Linked DNA regions of Homo sapiens: regions 1, 2, 3, 4, 5 and 6 are each linked to region 7. Evidence: promoter capture Hi-C in human tissues and cell types (Jung and others, 2019). All regions are on one chromosome and are shown on one strand. The core of a region is centred on a gene start or on the middle of the fragment in contact, and the rest is flanking DNA. Distances in the headings are between cores, read along the strand shown.

Evidence for each region. Contacts are between HindIII fragments. The study calls those that stand out against the background at their distance.
Region 1: the fragment with the promoter of ISOC2 here is called in contact with the fragment with the promoter of CNOT3 in region 7 in 1 of the 25 tissues and cell types used here (spleen).
Region 2: the fragment with the promoter of ZNF581 here is called in contact with the fragment with the promoter of CNOT3 in region 7 in 2 of the 25 tissues and cell types used here (dorsolateral prefrontal cortex and liver).
Region 3: a fragment that was not itself captured here is called in contact with the fragment with the promoter of CNOT3 in region 7 in 1 of the 25 tissues and cell types used here (aorta).
Region 4: a fragment that was not itself captured here is called in contact with the fragment with the promoter of CNOT3 in region 7 in 1 of the 25 tissues and cell types used here (dorsolateral prefrontal cortex).
Region 5: a contact is called between the fragment with the promoter of COX6B2 here and the fragment with the promoter of CNOT3 in region 7, in 1 of the 25 tissues and cell types used here (spleen).
Region 6: the fragment with the promoter of SBK2 here is called in contact with the fragment with the promoter of CNOT3 in region 7 in 1 of the 25 tissues and cell types used here (spleen).

Annotation. Positions count from the first base shown.
Region 1 is chr19:55,460,219-55,462,918 of GRCh38, forward strand. ISOC2 (isochorismatase domain containing 2) reads right to left here and starts at 1,424. Exons shown (of 6, transcript NM_001136201.2): 1 at 1,294-1,424. The HindIII fragment of the contact is 25,257 bases long and covers 1-2,700 here.
Region 2 is chr19:55,642,347-55,645,046 of GRCh38, forward strand. ZNF581 (zinc finger protein 581) reads left to right here and starts at 1,303. Exons shown (of 2, transcript NM_016535.4): 1 at 1,303-1,428; 2 at 2,207-2,700. The coding sequence starts at 2,226. ZNF580 (zinc finger protein 580) reads left to right here. Exons shown (of 2, transcript NM_207115.2): 2 at 151-1,124. The coding sequence starts at 163. The coding sequence ends at 681. RefSeq lists silencers at 216-685, 217-511, 1,456-1,505, 2,596-2,700 and enhancers at 1,116-1,335, 2,237-2,700. The HindIII fragment of the contact is 13,132 bases long and covers 363-2,700 here.
Region 3 is chr19:53,073,110-53,075,809 of GRCh38, forward strand. ZNF160 (zinc finger protein 160) reads right to left here. Exons shown (of 6, transcript NM_001322131.2): 4 at 1,948-2,074; 5 at 1,031-1,159. Among named protein-coding and RNA genes, the nearest start is that of ZNF160, 29 kb to the right of the region's middle. The HindIII fragment of the contact is 9,128 bases long and covers 1-2,700 here.
Region 4 is chr19:53,095,518-53,098,217 of GRCh38, forward strand. The region is part of intron 1 of ZNF160 (zinc finger protein 160); the gene reads right to left. Among named protein-coding and RNA genes, the nearest start is that of ZNF160, 6.6 kb to the right of the region's middle. The HindIII fragment of the contact is 5,693 bases long and covers 1-2,700 here.
Region 5 is chr19:55,353,465-55,356,164 of GRCh38, forward strand. COX6B2 (cytochrome c oxidase subunit 6B2) reads right to left here and starts at 1,255. Exons shown (of 5, transcript NM_144613.5): 1 at 1,186-1,255; 2 at 946-1,075; 3 at 402-502; 4 at 143-310. The coding sequence starts at 1,057. The coding sequence ends at 257. It overlaps GARIN5B (golgi associated RAB2 interactor family member 5B), which reads right to left. Exons shown (of 11, transcript NM_001145402.2): 10 at 1,796-1,881; 11 at 1,444-1,631. The coding sequence ends at 1,836. RefSeq lists silencers at 570-679, 790-839. The HindIII fragment of the contact is 4,590 bases long and covers 1-1,808 here.
Region 6 is chr19:55,535,818-55,538,517 of GRCh38, forward strand. SBK2 (SH3 domain binding kinase family member 2) reads right to left here and starts at 1,316. Exons shown (of 4, transcript NM_001370096.2): 1 at 1,237-1,316; 2 at 225-479. The coding sequence starts at 477. RefSeq lists a silencer at 1,925-2,219. The HindIII fragment of the contact is 44,152 bases long and covers 1-2,700 here.
Region 7 is chr19:54,136,491-54,139,190 of GRCh38, forward strand. CNOT3 (CCR4-NOT transcription complex subunit 3) reads left to right here and starts at 1,272. Exons shown (of 18, transcript NM_014516.4): 1 at 1,272-1,503. The HindIII fragment of the contact is 23,783 bases long and covers 1-2,700 here.

The sequences.
Region 1 (2,700 bases), core at 174-2,673, 1.3 Mb after region 7:
TTACGAGGAAGCTCTTTAAGTAACAATACGAAAACATGTTTGAGAGAAGTGAAAAAGAAGCAGAACAGTGTGTATGGAATGCTCCTTTTTGTGCCAAAGAAAAAAGGGAGAGGAAAATGTGTCTGTGTTGCCTATATCTATATCTGCTATCTCTGGCAAACAAGCAAGAAACGGGAGACTCAGGCGGGTGAACCAGGCACCGGGGAAGTCTGTAGGAGCCTTTTCACTGGGTCCTATTCTGTTTCTTCTGAATTCTGGACAATGTGCAACAAGTTGTCTAGTCAATACTATATACAATAAAGGGTTGGCATAAAGCCAAAACCCGGCAAAACTGATCTATGGCGTCAGAAGCCAGGACAGTGACTGCCCTTGGACCACAGTGATGGAAACGACGACGGCGGGAGATCCTGGGATGTGGCGCATGTTTGACTTTTTTCTTTGGATACTTGTTTACACCAGGGTGCTCCCTTTATAAATATTTATTTAAGCTGTGTATTTGCAAACCGTTCGATTTTCTGCGTTTGTGGTATTATTCCAGAAAAAGTGTTCAAAATGCAAAATACAAAGATGGCTTCAGGCCCCCGCCGTGCGGTTGAACTGGAGGCAAAAGGCCAGAGAGCAGGAGGTCGGCGCTGGGGCCCAGTGGGACAGGGGAGAGTCAGGAAGGGGCAGCTGGGACGGTGGGGAAAGTCGGGGAGAAAGGCCCCCAGTTTCTGGTCGAGCGAGGGGCATGATCTGAAGATTCATAGGGGATCCCGGGGAGGGGAACTGGTTTTTGGGAGATGAAAAATTGGGGTGAGGGTGGGTGTGTGAGAGAGAGAGATGTGAAGGGGAGGTCTGGGCTGGAGAGGGTTGGGCGTGTCCTGCGGAACGAGGAGAGATTCAGCCTGGGTGGAGGGTACCCAAGGCCAAAGGGGGCGTGGCTGGAGGTGGGCGGCAACAGGGGGCGGGGTAGGGCCGTTGATTTCCCCACCCGGTCTCGGAAACCCGGCCTTGGAGCCCGGACTTCCTGGCTGTGTGACCTTGGGCAAGTTTCTCTTTGTCTTAGCCTCAGTTTTCTCGTCGGAGAAATGGGGATTAAACCTGCCCACCCCCCAGCGCTGTTACAGAGGCGGCAGGCGCGACCCGGGGACGCTTCCAATCTCTGGCCAGCCAATTCTGGCGGGGCCAGGTGGAGTCCTCCTTCTGGTCCTGTGACCTTGGCCCGGGACGCCCAGGCAGAGCCTCAGTTTCCCCATCTGCTAGGCGGTAAGGTCGGTCTCCAAATAGCGCCAGCAGCGAGAGAGGACTTACCCGGAAGGTGCCGGGTTCGAGCCCGGAACGGCCCCTCTGCAGGTGAGGCGGGGGCACCCTCACCTCTCGGCTCTCGGACGGCCACCGCTGAGGCCTCTTGCGGGCTTCCCAGGGCTGGTTACCGTTTCGTTAGGGCTGGACACGTGGCCCACCCCCTGCACCGTCCGTTTTCCGCCCACTTGGGCCCAGCCGTCCAATCGACACTCATCATGCTCTGCCTCGCCGCTCTCTCCGGCCAATCCGCATGTGCCACTGCCTCTGCCCGCAATCGGCGCTCACCAACTCACCCCGCCCCCTGCCTCTCAACCAATCCGCATATGCAGCTGCTTTGCTCCCGCCCCAGGGGGGGCGGTGCCGGCAAGGCTGTCAGTCTCAAGAAAATGATTAGCTCGCAAAGGCGCCGTGGGGGCGGGGCAGCAGGTCGTTCTGCCAATGGAGAGCCGTAGAGGGCGTGAGTGGCGGCCGACGGGGCGGAGTCGCGCGGTGGTCTCCGAAGGCTCAGACTCTGGCTGGAGAGAGGGCGTCTCGGCCGGCCCCATTGCACAGAGCAGACCGCCGAGGCCGGGAGAGAGAGAGAGGGGTCTTACCTAGAGTAGAGGCATGTCTGCGGTTCGAAACCTGGCCCTCTCTCAAGAAACGGAGGCTTACAAAGATACCCAAGCACTTTCCAGGAAGGGGCTGGCTGAGGGAGCGATCAAGTGAGGAATTTGACGCCCCCCTGTCCTTTGCGCTCTGTGCTGCCTCAGTTTCCCCATCTGTACAGCACCTGCCTCCTCGGGTGGTGTTTAGAATAATTTAGACTCTGTGCTTGGAAATGGAGGTTGAGAGAAAGAGAGAATTTCCTATCTGTCTTGGAATAAATCCAAACTCCTCCCAATTCATGGTCGGCCTTCCTGGTCCGTGCAGACCTCGCCTCTCACCACTCCCCCTGCTCACTCCGCTCCAGCCACAGGGGTCTCCTCTTGCTCTTCCCTCAATGTCCCACCGCAGGGCCTTTGCACGTGTGCTGCCTCAGCCTGGAATCCTAGGACTCCCCATGGCCCAACCTTCCAGGCTTTCAAAGCCTTTCCTGACCACCTGGTGTCAGGTAGCCCTTCCATCAGGTCGCTGTTTTTAATTTTTTTGAAACATCAAAAAAAAGAAAAAAATTGCTCTATCACCCAGGCTGGAGTACCATGGTACGATCACAGCTTGCTGCAGCCTCAACCTCCCGGGCTCAAGCGATCCTCCCACCTCAGCCTCCTGAGTAGCTGGGACCACAGGTATGCGCCACCACACCTGACTAATTTTTTAATTTTTTTGTAAAGATGGAGGTCTCACTCTGTTGCCCAGGCTGGTTTTGAACTCCTGGGCTCAAGTGATCCGCCTGCCTTGGCCTCCCAGAGTGCTGCGATTACAGGTGTGAGC
Region 2 (2,700 bases), core at 53-2,552, 1.5 Mb after region 7:
GGCTGGAGTCACAGTTTTTATTTTGCTAGGGAGGTAGTCAGTGGCGCACAAAGGGTAACAAGCAGTGATAGTGGGGATGCTTTCCATTTTAGGAAACTTTTCCTAAAAGGAAGTGGCAATTTTAACTAATCTCCCCTCCGCCGCTCCCAGCTGCCGCTCCAGATGCTGCTGCTGCCGCCGCGGCCACCCCACCCTCGGTCCTCCTCTCCGGAGGCCATGGACCCACCGCCCCCCAAGGCTCCCCCTTTCCCCAAGGCGGAAGGCCCCTCCTCCACTCCTTCCTCGGCGGCGGGGCCCCGACCCCCGCGGCTGGGCCGCCACCTCCTCATCGACGCCAATGGGGTCCCCTACACATACACGGTGCAGCTGGAGGAGGAGCCCCGGGGCCCGCCCCAGCGCGAGGCGCCCCCAGGAGAGCCCGGCCCTCGCAAGGGCTACAGCTGCCCGGAGTGCGCCCGTGTCTTTGCCAGCCCTCTGCGGCTGCAGAGCCACCGCGTGTCGCACTCGGACCTCAAGCCCTTCACGTGCGGCGCCTGCGGCAAGGCCTTCAAGCGCTCCAGCCACCTGTCGCGGCATCGCGCCACGCACCGCGCCCGCGCCGGGCCGCCGCACACCTGCCCGCTCTGCCCACGCCGCTTCCAGGACGCCGCGGAGCTGGCGCAGCACGTGCGCCTCCACTAAGCTCGAGACCCGGCCTGTGCTGCCCTGCCCGTCTCAGGGCCACCAAGTCTGACCCACACAGCGTCACTCACTCCCACACACACCCCCTGGCTCTGCTGAGGTTACTGCCTTACCCTGGGCCTCAGTTTCCCCACCTTCCAAAGGGAGGAGCATCATTCCTTCCTTACCCCCTTTCTAGCTGTGTGATGTAGACCAAAGTCGTTGCCCCTCCCTGGGCCTGGGAACCAGTCGGAACTGGGTTCCAGTCCAGCTGTGCTGTGTGAGCCTGTGCAAGTGACATGACCTCTCTAAACCTTGGTTTTCTGCTCTCTGGAGCGGTGAACCGGTGGTTGTCTGCGGGGAAGAGATGATAAAGAGCACGGGCACGGTCTGGTTCATTTCTGTATCTACCCCCCTTCCGCCCACGCCCCCGACCCTTTGCTCAATAAACATTCCGCACTCCATTTTCAGGCTCTTCCTTGCGTGTGCGTGCACGTTGGGTGCTGGGGGGTGGAGACCGGATCTTCCTCGCTTGGGTACTTTCCTCTCGGTGTGTGTTTCTGGCCGGAGCCGTTTCGCGACGGCCCGGGCGCCCCGCCCCAACCTTCCTTCCCTAGACCCTCTTCTCTCCCTTCGGCTTCTCTCTTTCGGCCGGCGCCGCCAGTTCCTGGGGCACACCCAGAGGTCCCCTTCTCGCCGCCGCCTGCAACTGCGAGGGTAGCCCGGGGCCGCTTGGAGTCGCCCGGACCTGAGAGGCTGCTGCACTGGGTACGGGGGCCGGGAGGAGGAAGGGGGCTGGGGGCGGGCGGCGGGAGGGGCTGGACCGCGTGGAGGGTACCTGGGCCGGGGCGGGAGTGGGGCAGACGCCGGAGGGGGCTGTTCTGGAGCTTGGAGGGGGCGAGAACTTACACAGAAAGGCCCAGAAAGCGAGGGCTGCGGCCCCGGGGGTGGAACCCCGGAGAGCGCTGGGACCTAGAACGAGCCTGGTGGAGGCCGGGCGAGGACTAGAGAGAACCTGAGGTGGGTGGACGGGTGGGAGCACGGAGTTGTTCAGACACGTGGCTGGAGAGAGGGCCGGAACCTGGGGGTCCTAACGTCGGAGCCCCTGTGAATAGGCTTGGCTTGTATGGAGGGGGTCAGGAAAGGCTTGAGTATGTAGCATAGGCCAACACGCAGACCCTGGAAAGGGCTAGAAGGAGGGGAGGGAGAGGCCTGGAGGCCTGCGGGGTGGGGCACCCAGTGACCTGGGAGGGCACAAAGAGGAAGGTTAGAGCGAGGTCCAGGTTGTGCAGAGGAGGTCAAGAGATCCTGTGAGTACAGTGTATGGTGGAGCACCGAGGCTAGGAGAGGTTTTCCAAGGAGGAAGACCCTGGGGACCTTTTAGGGGGCCACAGACTCCAGCTGTGAGCGGGACTGGAAAAGAGGGACTGAGGGGCAGCAGGATGCAGAGGTCCTGGGCCGGGTATAGGGAGGGAAAAGGATGGAGCCTGTGGTGCTGAGCTGCCCTCTTCTATATAACCTTCTTATCCCATCTCCCATCCACCAGGCCTCAGCCAGCCCTCCGGATGCTGGTGCTGCCATCCCCCTGCCCTCAGCCTCTGGCATTTTCCTCCGTTGAGACCATGGAGGGCCCTCCCCGTCGGACTTGCCGCTCCCCAGAACCTGGACCTTCCTCCTCCATCGGATCTCCCCAGGCTTCATCTCCTCCAAGGCCCAACCACTACCTGCTTATTGACACTCAGGGTGTCCCCTACACAGTGCTGGTGGACGAGGAGTCACAGAGGGAGCCAGGGGCCAGTGGGGCTCCAGGCCAGAAAAAGTGCTACAGCTGCCCCGTGTGCTCAAGGGTCTTCGAGTACATGTCCTACCTTCAGCGACACAGCATCACCCACTCGGAGGTAAAGCCCTTCGAGTGTGACATCTGTGGGAAGGCATTCAAGCGCGCCAGCCACTTGGCACGGCACCATTCCATTCACCTGGCGGGTGGTGGGCGGCCCCACGGCTGCCCGCTCTGCCCTCGCCGCTTCCGGGATGCGGGTG
Region 3 (2,700 bases), core at 201-2,700, 1.1 Mb before region 7:
GACCAACATCTCCCTATTCCCTCCAGTCCCCAACCTGTGGTAACCCACATTCTACTCTTTGCTGCTATTAGTTTTATTGGTTTAGATTCCAAATGTAAGTGACAACATGCAGTACTTGTATTTCTGTGCTGAAGCCTGGAAAAACAGAATACGCACCCCATGTAAGACTGAGGATCAATGACAGAAGGATTTTGTTAGGTGTCTTTACGGTTATGCTGAGAACAATCTTAGAAGATAGAACCCACTCGCTTATCACACACCCCCATGAAAGTGGCAAAAGCAGAATGGAAGAAATGGCCGAGGGACCTCGACAGGCGGAGACGGCTGGAGACTCTTCCATGAGGTTTGGGGCAGCAGATGCCAAGGAGCAGCAGCCAATGTTTCCATCTCCTGAGCAGGTCTTCCACGCACAGGAAATGGGGTGGAACATAAACAGGTCTAGACGTCAGGACTAAGGACTATGGAGGCTTCCCCTCTGACCCATATGGACTAAGAACTGAGCACCATATGGAATTAAATACAGAGGGAGAGACCAAGAAAGAAAGCAGTTTCTTCAGAAGGAACCATAGAGTTCAAATGACAGGGTGTTGTCCATCATGATAAAGACTTTGCCTCTATCTCTAAGGCAACTTATTTTCCCAAAGAACTCTCTCATCTGCAGAGAGTTTCCCACTTTATTTATTTATTTATTTTGAGACGGAGTTTTGTTCTGTCCACCCAGGCTGGAGTGCAGTGGCATGATCTTGGCTCACTGCAACCTCCACCTCCCGGGTTCAAGCAATTCTCTTGCCTCAGCCTCCTGAGTAGCTGGGACTACAGGCACACGCCACCATGCCCGGCTAATTTTTTTTTGTATTTTTAGTAGAGATAGGGTTTCACAATGTTGGTCAGGCTGGTCTCGAACTCCTGACCTCAAGTGATCTGCCCACCTTGGCCTCCCTAAGTGTTGAGATTACAGGCGTGAGCTACTGTGCCCCCTCCCACACTCTAGTTAATGAGTGGCCTTCTCTCTGCCCATCTGAGCTCTTACCTGTGACCACGCCTTTGACACATTCCGGCGTTCTTGGTTTTCTTGCTATTTTCACACAGCTCTTCACAGTCCAGGGCTCTTTCCCTTCCTCCAACATGGAGATAATATTCATATCAAAATGACACAGTCCTGTTTATAAAAAGAAAGGATCACAATGTGCCGGGGCTTTTCCAGAATCCCAGCCCTATGTTTACATGAGAGGACATTATATGTGGATCTAAGAAAACTTCAAAAATTCATCCACTGGGCCAGGCGCGGTGGCTCATGCCTGTAATCCCAGCATTTTGGGAAGCTGAGGTGGGTGGATCACAAGGTCAGGAGATGGAGATCATGATGGCTAACATGGTGAAACCCTGTCTCTACTAAAAACATAAAAAAAAATTATCCAGGTGTGGTGGCGGGCGCCTGTGGTCCCAGCTACTCGGGAGGCTAAGGCAGGAGAATGGCATGAACCTGGGAGGCAGAGCTTGCAGGGAGCCTAGATCACGCCACTGCACTCCAGCCCGGGCGACAGAGCGAGACTCCGCCTCAAAAAAAAAAAAAAAAAATCATCCACTGAATGCCTCCTTCTGAATACCCAGGAAACATGGTACATGCTGATAGAAGGCTCTATTCCACCAACAACTTAATCCAAAGCAGAGAGGTAGAAAACAGGAAATCTGACATTTCAAAAGTCTAACACAATGTATTATGCATACAAAAGCTCTGAAACCTCAAATGATGAAGTACAAAGGAGGCAGAACATCTGAGAAAGGGGAAGATTAAAGTCCAGGTTTCCCATGATTAAGCTTTCCATTTCAGAGTCAACAGGACTTCAATCTCAGTCAAGCAATGCAGGGGCTCTCCAGGGACTCGTAAGGGAAAATGCAACAATAGACAAGAACAGATCTTGACTTCTGGAAGAAAGTCATCCTCACCCAGAGAAACAAGGTTCCAGTAGTTCTCCAACATCACGTCCCTGTATAAGATCCTCTGAGCAGGGTCCAGGCATTTCCACTCCTCCTGAGAGAATTCTATGGCCACATCCCTAAATGTCAACCGTACCTAAAATGAAAAACACATTTCACCAAGTGGCTAAGGGGAGAGTTCAAAATTTCACATAAAAGGAGAAGAGGAGAAAAATGTGAGAATAGGTTAAATTGAAGTGGGTGAGCTGACAGATCCAGATTGTGACAATGTGACATACAGATTTGGTCTTCATCCCCCTCTCCTGACATAAGAGCTCACTTGAAATCAGTGGAGTGATAAGTATCTTTTTGTACATTAATGGGATAATTGGTGTCTGGAGCACCTAGGTAGCTTCAGGATGGAGGGCGGTCACCGGAACTAAGGCTCGGTGGGTGGTCACTGGAAAGGCTGAGGCTCGGTTAGACTAAGCCTCTGTCCTCTCGGGAGGACAGAGGGAATGAAAGTTCAGTTGATCACCAATGCCAATAATGGAAGCAAGGCCTCCATAATGGGGCCTCCATGAAAACTCAAAAAAGACAGAATACATGAGAGAATACATCCCAGCTCCTCACTCCTTTCCCATATCTCAACTAATAGATCACTTCCATCTAGATGTTCATCTGTGTGCTTTGTAGCATCTTCTATAATAAATGGGTAAATATAAGTGTTTCCCTGTGTTATGTGAGCCACTCAAGCAAACTAATCAATTTCAAGGAGGGGGT
Region 4 (2,700 bases), core at 23-2,522, 1.0 Mb before region 7:
CAGCTTGTCTATGATTTGAACCCTCCCCTTGATTTGGAGACTGGATTGCTCTTTTTAATACTCCCAGTTGGTGGCTGGTGTGCTTCCCAGCTGTCCGCAGGTTTGTTCTCATGAGAGATGACTCCAGAGTGTCTAGTCTTTGCTTTGCATAACGGATGAGGAATACAAAATGTCTTAATCTTATGAATATATAAATTGTCTGTTTATGCACAATGTTCAGTCGTTTATTCACTCATCTCCCGTGGAATCCTAAGCACAATTATAAAAGAGTCACGTTACATGAGATCAGCGTCTAACACAAAGCTTCTGTCTCAATAACAGTAAATAATAATAGCAACATTAAATGAAATATTAGTATTGCTAAAATGGGAGTGTAGTAAAAATTAAATAAGTAAATAATTAAAAGGAAATGATATATGGTCAGGTGCGGTGACTTATGCTTGTAATCCCAGCACTTTGGGAGGCCGAGGTGGGCAGATCATATGAAGTCAGGAGTTCAAGACCAGCTGACCAACATGGTAAAACCCTGTCTCTACTAAAAATACAAAAAAATGACCCAGGAGTGGTGGCACATGCCTGTAGTCCCAGCTACTCCAGAGGGTGAGGCAGGAGAATTGCTTGAACTCAGGAGACAGAGGTTGCAGTGAGCTGAGATCGCACCACTGCACTCCAGCCTGGGAGACAGAACGAGACTCCGTCTCAAAATAAATAAATAACTGAATGAATGAATGAAATATTAGGCCATTTTTATGGTCTTCACTTTGGGAGACTGATGTATGCAGGGGTGGACTGCATGTTTGTCCTTGGGGTGGTCTTTTTCGTGAGAAGGGAGCTGAGCAGGACTAACTGAGGGGCAGAGCCAAGGGCCCTTCATGGAGACCACTCTGCTTACCAACCTGTGGAAGGGCAAGCGCAAGTCCACCCAGAAACACATCTGGCTGACTATGGGATCCCTGTCTGAGGCTCAGCAGACCCACGTGGCCAATAAAAGACCCTAAATTCTGCAAAAAGAAGAGTTTGTCTCTGTGCCCAGGCCCCTCCATGGAAAAAAGGTCCTGGGGTCTAAGATTTCTCACTTGGCAATGATGTTGGCTTGAATATTATTCACAGACCCAGATCCTTGGGTCTTGCGTGGGGCAAACTGACTGCAGAACTGCAGGAAGTGAGAGTCTGAACAGAGCAGCAGAAAGGCAGGCAGGAGACCTGAGGGAGGGGAGAAAGGAGAGAGACAAACAGACCAACCCGTCCTCTCCCTCAATCACCCGCCTGGGGAAGCATTAGTTTCCCATCATAGAGAGGACAACGGGGAAAGGGAGAAGCGTGTGCATAGGATGAGATGTGTGTTGGGTGGACAGAAAGACTCCTTTCCCTAAATGTGACCCCATTAGCTCACCCCATTCTATTGCACAAATTCCTGAGCGGAGGGGCACCCTGTGGGGATGAACACAGCTCTTCCTGCCTCCAGTTCCTGCGTCTCCCTGCCATGACCAGGGCTGTAACCCTCCAACTCCCTTCCCAGGGCCCCGTGGCCCCTCTGCACTGGAGAAAGGTCCATGTTCCACAGCGGGTTTCAAGGACCTTGCCCCTCAGCTCCCCAGCTGCCTTGTGACTCTGTGACTCTGTTATCTTGGAATAAACAGGGAGAGGCCACCGGCCTGGCTGCAAGAATGTGGCAGCTTTATCTTCCCAAGGACAGTCCCAGTGGAAGCCTTTGGGCCGCAGGTCAGTGTGCTGTGTTTCACTCTGATTCTTGGAGAAATCTTTCCCTTACTCTGGGACCCTGATAATCACTCCCTCTTGAGTTGCACCCACAGACGCCCCCACAACAAACCCTCCCTAATGAAAGCCATCTGCGCCTGATTCTTAGGATCCCCGTTGCCCTCTGGACTCAGACACGCTTACAAACTCCCACACTCCCCATATACTTCATAAAGATCCCACAATCCCCAGATACTTCATAAAGATCCAGAAGCCCTGTTATGAAATCTCACAAGCCCCAGTAACTCATGGAATAATATACACAAACACCCCAGGAACTCACTGACCCAGGGCAACGTATTTCCACTCATAGTGACTCCACCCCACAGGGGAATACCACTGAAACCTACCAATAAAACAGAGATGTCTCTAATGATGCAATTAGACCCCAACATCAGGAAAGGAAACACTCCAAATGATCATTTCATCTTCCAAAACACAACTGAAAGCTTATTGATCTGCAACTGAAAATACCCCGAATGCCAAAGGCAACCCAGAAAATAATCTCTGAGATTCTTCCTATCTTTCCTCTATGGGTTTCAGGATGGTTTTTGCACTTCCCAAAGCCTCCACAGAAATCACCCCGTGGAGCGGATGCTGTGGAGCAGCTCTGGGATCCACACCCTCAGGCCAAGGCGCCCATCCTCCTGCTGCTGAAGCTCCCTCTGGGCTCAGCTTAGGTCTTGGTTCTAAGTACACTTCGGGATGTTTTTCTCTGCCTGATTCCACTGCCTTCAGTCCTCTTCACTGTGATGATGAGTTTCCGAATTAAATTCCTGCATGCAAATCTCTGTGTCAGCATCTGTTTCCCAGGTAACCTGAGCTGAGACATCAGGGCATTACAAAATGATCCTGCAGCCCCACAACCACCCCAAAACCCACTTCCAGGTGCTACAGCCAGACCTGAGACTTCTTTCCAAGTGTGCCACACATCCCGTGAGC
Region 5 (2,700 bases), core at 5-2,504, 1.2 Mb after region 7:
TACCTGATGGAGCAGCAGTCCCCCACCTGCCCCTTATCGGAAAAAGCAGCGTTAGCCCGGACACAGGCACACGGAGGATCCCCACCACCACCACGACGCATCGCTGGCTGGGCATTAAGAAGAAACATCAGCAACAGCATACCATTATTCGTGGCTTAGACACTGGGAGGTAGGGGTGGATAACCGAGACCCGGGGCTCCGCGAGACAAAAAGATGCAGGATCACTGCATCTTCAGAGGAAGCCGCGCTGGGGCAGTCAGATTTTGCCGGCGAAAATCCCGTTCTTGATCTGCTCGTTCCAGCTCTCCACCTGGGAAGCAGAAAGGCAGGGAGCGGGACGCCGGCTCAGCCTCGGCCGAGCCCTGCACACGCCTGGCCCGGCGCCCCCTCTGCCGACTCACCCAGCTGATGGGGCACAGCGAGTGGTACACGCGGAAATAGTACTCGCAGGGCTGCGTGCTCTTCCCGCGGCGGGTCCTGGTCTTGAGGCAGCGGTGGTAGTCTGTGGCGGGCGGGGGTCACGCGGCAAGCCACGCCCATTCCAGGACAGGACCCGCCCCTCCACTGCTCGGGCCCTCCCAGTTCTTCGCTGCTTCGTCCCGCCTCCCTCTCCCCTGGAGGCCTCCGTCCCGCCCCTCCCAGCCAGGCCCCGACCCCTACCTCCCTCACACTGCTCCTCCTACCCAGACCCTGCCCCTACCTACCTCGCCCCGCACCTTCACGACTCGGCCCCGCACCTTCCAGATCAGGCCTCGCCCCTACCAACCTCGCCCCGCCCCTCCAGGCTCAGCCCCGCCTTTTCTCGACCAGGCCCCGCCCCCACCAACCCGGCCCCGCCCGGCCTCCCACCCTAACGGTCTCCGCGGGACTTAGGGTGGGAGTGCCCCTCCCTGCCGTCCCTTGTCACACCCTGCTCCTCCCATAACCTGGCTGAGCAGGTCTCACCCAGGAAGTTCTGGTAGCAGTTACGGATCTGGTTCTGGCTGGGGAAGCGCGGGTCGAAGGGCGGCGTCGACCATTTCCCCTTGGGGGGCTCCTGGGCTTCCACATCCAACATCCACGAAGGAGGCAACTCCTGCGAGACGGGACGGGACGGGGACTCCGTGGGGCCGAGGGGGCGCCCTCGCTCCGACCCGTCTCCCCATCCTGACCCCCGCCCCTGAACCCCACCCGTCGTGCCCTCACCAGCCTGACGTTGGCGGCCACTGGATCTGCTGTGGGATGGTCCCGGGGTGCCGCTCGCTTCTGAGTCCGCGGGGTGCGGTCCCACCCGGGTCAGGAGAAACGCACCCCGCGGCCGGATTGGCTAGGACGCCCGAGCCCCAGCCAATGGGAGCCGTCGTGCACCGCGGGGCTGGTAGGGGCGCCCCCACCCCACCCCTTGCTCCCCCGACGCCCCCTCGGGGGCCTGCGCGTGCACACAGGCACCGAGGTGCGACTCGCTGAGTCTCAGGCTCAAGCTTTAATCTCTGCGAAGTTGGGCGGCTCCACGGGCTCGCCCCCGCCCCCCCCCGCCCCCCAATATATAAAGGCATATCCATAGTTCTGGTATCTACCAGAGGGGGCAAATCCCCCCAAGCGGCTTTCAACATTCCGCTTCCTACAGTCGGTGCGCACAGAACCCTCGGGGCCTGTGGGGTTAAGAGGAAAGAGCAGCGGTGGGGTCCGGGCTCCTGGGAACCCCCCCGCCCCCCTCGTCCTCCCCCCTCCGTTACCCGCCCCCCCCACCCTCCTCCCTCGCCCCCCTCCCCCCGCCCCCAGGTCTAAGGCAGATCTCCAGGGTCTTAAAGGGTACCTGGCAGCGCTGGGCTCCTCTGGACAGTTTCCAACTGAGGTTAAGCCCCCGCATCCGGCCACTCGGAGTGCTGGGAGTGCTGCAGGCTGCAGGGAGAAAGCAAGCCAGAGAGAGCTTTGGGGGACAGGGTAGGGAGAGAGGGGTACCCAGGGCTTTAAGAGCTGCAGATGCCTGGCTTAGGAGAGCGTCCCCCAGGGCGGGTCTTGCTGTGTGTTTGGCTCACTGTTGTATCTGCCTGGGGCAGAGTCTGGCAGTAGTAAATGCACAATAAATCCGAGGCGGAATCAATGAGTCTTGGCTCTAGGGGCAGACAAGTAACTGGAATCTGGGCAGGTGGTTTCACCTCTAGATCCCTGCTAAGCTTCTCTCCCTCCTGCCTGGTTAATATCAGGCCTGACTCAGGATTGTTTACACTGACAGCCAAATGTACGAATTAAGAATCCCGGCCAGGTGCGGTGGCTCATGCCTGTAATCCTAGCATTTTGTGGGGCAGAGGCGGGAGGATTGCTTGAGTCCAGGAGTCTGAGACTAGCCTGGACAACATGGTGAAACCCCATCTCTACAAAAAATACCAAAATTAGCCAGGCGTGTTGGTGCGTGCCTGTGGTTCCAGCTACTGAGGAGGCTGAGGCAGGAGAATCACCTGAGCCTGGGTAGCTTGAGGCTGCAGTGAGCTGTGATGGCATCACTGCACTTCAGTCTGGGCAACATGTGAGACCTCTTTTCTACAAAAAAATCAAAAACTTGGCTGGGCTTTTGGAGGCTGAGGCAGGAGGATCACTTGAGCCCAGGAAGATAAAGGCTGCCATGAGCCACGATCACACCGCTGCACTCTAGCCTGGCAATAGAGCTCACCCCTGTAATCCCAGCACTTTGGGAAGCCGGATGGATCACCTGAGGTCAGG
Region 6 (2,700 bases), core at 66-2,565, 1.4 Mb after region 7:
AAGTTGCAGTGAGATTGTGCCACTGCACTCCAGCCTGGGCGGCAGAGCCAGACTGTCTCAAAAACAACCAACCAACCAAAAGAACAAAAAACAAAAAACACACAGCTTTGGAGGGCAGAGGTAAGACTTGATTCAGGCCTGCCAGCCTCCCCAGCCTGGGCTACCCCAGGCCCGTGCCCCGCCCCCAGCTGAACCCTGCCACCTCTGGCCCCACAGCCTCGTACCTTTCTGACGATGGGTGACCAGAAGGACGCGGCCATAGCAACCCTGGCCCAGGGGACGCACTTCCTCGTAGAGCTCGTCCACCTCGGCTCGGACCAGGGTCTGAGCACTCAGCGTCATCATGTCCTCCAGCGCGCGGGCAGCCTCCTGGCCCTGCTGGAGCTCCTCTAATGTCAGGCCGCCCAGACCCTCCTCCTCGCTGTCCTCCGAAGCCCCTGCCTCCGCCGGCCCTTCCTCAGACTGTTTGCCGGGCATCTCTGCGAGAACAGAGAGGGGTGCCCAGGCTCAGGTCCCAGGCCCAAGGGAGGAGGGGACTGGGGGTCTGGACTCCTGGGTCTGAGGGAGGAGGGGCTGGGGGCTCATCGCGCTTCTCATTGTGACTCAGTCTCCCTCTTGGTGAGAGGTGGGGAGACAAGTCTGGTGTGAGTTCAAGCCCCAGGTCACAGATGTCCCTGCCCGCGTGCCGCCGCCGCCACCCGCCCACCCTGAGGTTGAAAGATGAACCAGATAACTGAGACTCCCCCATCTTGTTTCCAAAGCAAACAGACTTGGGCCCTGGGGGTGGATGAGTAGACTCTGTCTCCTGAGAACAAACAGGTGCTCTTGGGCTCAGGGCTGGGAGGGCGGGCTGTGCAGAGGGCCTGGGACGCCTGGGTCCTGCATGGGACCGAGCACTTGGGATCAGTCCCCAAGCTCCTGACAGGCCTGGGGTCCCACTTTCACAGCCCACCCACCTCCCTCCGACCCAGCCCCCCAGCCCCTCCTCCGCCAGGCCCAGGGGTCCAGGCCCCCAGCCCACCTCTCTCCCGGAACCTCATACAATTCACACAACTGGGGACCCCCTGATTCTGTTTCCCTCACCCTCCACCGCTCTACAGCCTCCAGGTGCAGCCCAGGCTCCCCTGAGGGACCGAGGACTCGGGCCACCTGGTACAGTCACCCTCAGGTGCTGCCCACCTCAGGCCAGGGCACCTTGCCCACCTCCCAACCTGGGCTCAGACCTCCAGACCTCACCTCCTCCAAGGCCCTCCTGACCCTCCGGCCGCCGGCTGTGGTCAGTGCCCGGCACTTAGGGCTCATGCCAGCAGAGGCCTGCCTAGGAGCAAGACCCCGCCCCGACTTTGGGGGTCGTAAGGCCCCGCCCCTGGGCCCGCCCCTTCTGCCCCCACTGGGAGCAGAGCGACATCGTGTGATGACTCCTGGAACTGGCTGTGGTCAGGTGAATACCCTGACCCAAGAGTTGAGCCCTCCTCCTTCAGACCCAGGAGTCCAGGCCCCAGCCCCTCCTCCTCCCTCAGACTCAGGAGTCCAGGCCCCCAGCGCCTCCTCCCTCAGACCCAGGAATCCAGTCTCCCAGTGCCTCCTCCCTCAGACCCAGGAGTCCAGGCCCCAGCCCCTCCTCCCTCAGACCCAGGAGTCCAGGCCCCCAGCTCTTCTTCCCTCAGACCCAGGAATCCAGGCCCCCAGCTTTCCCTCCCTCAGACCCAGGAATCCAGTCCCCCAGTGCCTCCTCCCTCAGACCCAGGAGTCTAGACCCCAGCCCCTCCTCCCTCAGACCCAGGAGTCTAGGTCTCCAGCCCCTCCTCCCTCAGACCCAGGAATTCAGGTCTCCAGCCCCTCCTCCCTCAGACCTAGGAGTCCAGACCCCCAGCCCCTCCTCCCTCAGACCCAGGAGTCCAGGCCCCAGCCCCTCCTCCCTCAGACCCAGGAGTCCAGGCCCCAGTCCCTCCTCCCTCAGACCCAGGAGTCCAGGCCTCAGCCTCCCCCACCCATCTGAAGTTTTCCGGCAGAACTGAGGCCTCCCCACCCCCTCAAGGCCTCTCTTCCCAGTTGCTCCAGCACCTGCTTCCCGCCCCTCTGAGTCTGAGGTCATCCCACACTGCATCGTTCTGGAATCTCATTGTCTCATTCTTTCCCCAAACTAGACCCCAGCATCTGATCCCCTGGACACCCCTCTCCAAGCACTTGTGTCTGACCTGTCAATGGGGCATTGATGGGGCAGCTGGGTGGGGTCAAGGCAGGGGTGGGTTCCAGAAATGATTTCATTTTCTACACGGGACCCGGACTCCTGGGCCTGATGGAGGAGGGGGTTGAGGACCTGGACTCCTAGGTCTGAGGGAGGAGGGGGTTGAGGACCCGGACTCCTGGGCCTGAGGGTGGAGGGGGTTGAGGACCTGGACTCCTGGGCCTGAGGGAGGAGGGGGTTGAGGACCTGGACTCCTGGGTCTGAGGGAGGAGGGCCTGAGGGCTCCTGATTCCAAAGAGAGGAATAACAATAAAAATAGTTTGAAAGCGCATAACAGGAATACAGGCCAGTGAGTGCCTCCCTGCTGTAAGCACAGGGAGATTAAGCCCCACTAGGAAGTCCCCAAGCCTTGGGCCACAGTGGGACTTCAGACCCCTGTTTTTTTCTGGGACGGTTGCACCCACCCTTCAGGGTTTTTTATTTCTTTTTTTTTTTTTTTTTTTTGCTTTTTG
Region 7 (2,700 bases), core at 22-2,521:
TTCCTGCGTGCTAAGTGCTGGAGATGCAAAATCCAGACAGGGAAACCGAATAATTACGAAAATGACGGTAGACGTACAAAAATAAATCCTAACGAACAAGGCGCGCAGGAGCGCTCCGCCCGGGAGGGAGGTCAGGGAAGTTTTCTCTCCAAGAAGACAACAGAGCTGAGACCTGAAACGAGCAGGCATTAGGGAGCCACCCGTCTCCTCTGTACCTTCTGCAGCGTCCTCAACACACTAAGGAAGCGGAGACGCAGAGGAGAATGACTGTCCCACCATCTGGTCGCCTAACCAGGCAGGGGCAGGACAAAAACTCCATGCCTCACGCTTCCCAACCAATTCTGCTATGCACGGTGCCAGAGACTTAAAGCAGTGTCTCTGGTCCCTTTCTTCTTTCACTCAGCAAATAATGAATTTCAGAGATGTGCCAACATAGAGGCACTTGGAGAAAGACGAGGCAGCTGAGAGGGAAGCTGCTTACCTGGCCGGGACGCAACGGTTGCGACCAAGTCCCACTTCTGCCAGCTACATACACCCTCTTTCACACGCTCTACGAGCAGCTACCGCCCACTCGCCACGCTATTGGTCCAACTAGCATGAATGATAACTTTTAGGGCCAACGAAGAAAAAGGGGTGGACTTTCTTGCCCAGCTCCTCCCACTTGGCCCTGTGGCTGTTTTGATTGGCAGATGACTTCGGCTCGGCCCCCGCTTTAAAGGCACCTGTCTGTCTCCCATTAGGTACGCGGCCCCTAACGCCCACACTCCATGCCTTCCTCCGCTTTCCCCACCCACTTCCAGGACCAACCAATGACTTCAAGGCAGAATATGCCCCCGCAACCAATTAAAAAGAGCTCTAAACTTGACGGACGACTTCCCGCCCCTGGACTGTCGTAGCTCCTCCCCCAGACCAATTGTTTTAAGAGAGGGGGGCGGATACATCCAATCAGCACGACACAGGTCTCTTGATTGACGTTCGGGTCCTCGCGCTGGCGTGTTGTGCCCTGAGGCGGGAGGAGGAGGAGGAGCGGGGAGGAAAACCTGAGCCAATCCTAGCAGCCTGCGCGGGAGGCCAATCGAACGCCGCGCCTTGGAGCGATCACCCAATCCGCGAAAGGGGGCAGGGCGCATCCCTGCCAGGAACCAATAGAAAGCCTCCAAGGGTCAGGAGCGACGTTCAGCGGGAGCAATGACTGGCCTATATTCGGGACTCGGGGGCGGGTCGGCGCCAGAGACGAGAAGAGAGGAGGGGAGGCCTCCTCCGCCGCCGCCATCTTGGACCGGGCCCGGTCAGCTTCCGCGGAGCCATCGGCAGACGCCGCGGCCTCCCTTGAGCCCCGACCCCCGTCGTCAGAACAACCCCGGGCCCACTCCCCCAACCCCACTTCCGCTTCGCGCCGCTATCGCGATAGCGCCCGGGCCCGGGGCGCGAGAAAAAGGCGGCGGGCGCTCGCCTCCCCCGCCTGTCGCGATACGCTCCTCAGCGGCGGCGCCAGCTCCTGTGGTGAGAGCGTCAGGCTCGACTGGGCCGGACCCCTTCCCTTCCTCCCCCCGGCGCCATCGGCCGCCCTCCCCGCCGCCTCCCGCCCTGGCGACACCGCCGTCTGTCGCGACATGGCCTCCCCTCGCCTGCCCCCTGCCGCCGCCTCTGCAGCGCGGGGCTCCCGGCGGGGGGCGGCTCCCTCCCTCTCGCCCTCCCGTTCCTGCGCCTCTTTCACGTTCCTCAGCGCCTCCCGGGGGTCCTTCCGCGACCCGGACCCCGGGCCCCGCCCGCCGCCGCCTCCCCGCGTGGCATCGCGTCGGGCCCCCCGGTAGGGGTGTGAGGGTGCGAAGCCTCCCGGGCGCGAGGTGCCCGCCCCTCTCCGCGTCGGTATTGGCTCCTGGCTGGAAGGATGGAGGCGCCCCTGGTCCCAGGTGCCCGCCCTCTCGGGGCTCAGGTGCCTGCCCCCCTCGGCCTCGGTCCTTCGCGTTGTGGGGCAGCCTCCGCGCCGGGGCTTCTCCCTCGACGGTGGCGGGGAGGGGGGGTGGTGGTCGGGACGAGGACCCCAGCTGGGTGGGGGAGTCACCCTTCCCAGGACCGAGGCCGCCCTCCGCATCCCTCCTCACTGCTCCCGGGAGCGCAGCCTCCCCTGGATCTCAGGTTCCAGCTGCCCGTCTGTATCGGATGGGAGCCTCTTGGGAGAGGAGTGGAGGAGAAACTCCCCGTTAGTTGGAGCCTTTGCCGAAGTTTCCACCTCTGTAGTCTGCAGCTCTTCCCTCTCATAGCGAGTAGCGCCCTGGGTGGCTCCAGCCTCGCCATCCCGCTGCACTGGGCGCCTGCCTTTTTGGGGGAGTTTGGCTTTCCCCCACCTGGGGTACAGGACCGTCCTCAGTGTGGCCCACGTCTGGTCTCAGCTCTCACACTTCTTTGATCCTGGCGTCTGCCCCTGGCTTTGCAGCCTTGAACTCCCCTGCATCGTGACTCTCCGACCTTCTGGGTGTGGGCGTCTCCCAGTGATATCAGGACCACTGTGGTCTTGTTGCTGGGGGCTGCTGGGATCCCCTGGCGCTCAGGTGCCTGGTGAAAGACACTAAGCCGCCACGCTGTCCATGTTAGTGAGCTCCCACTGCGGGCAGCACCAGCCCCTCTTTCTGAGCAGTCCCTGCCTCTCAGTGCAGGGCGGCCACCCACCCCGGGGTGAGCTCTCCTGTCCTTTTGGTG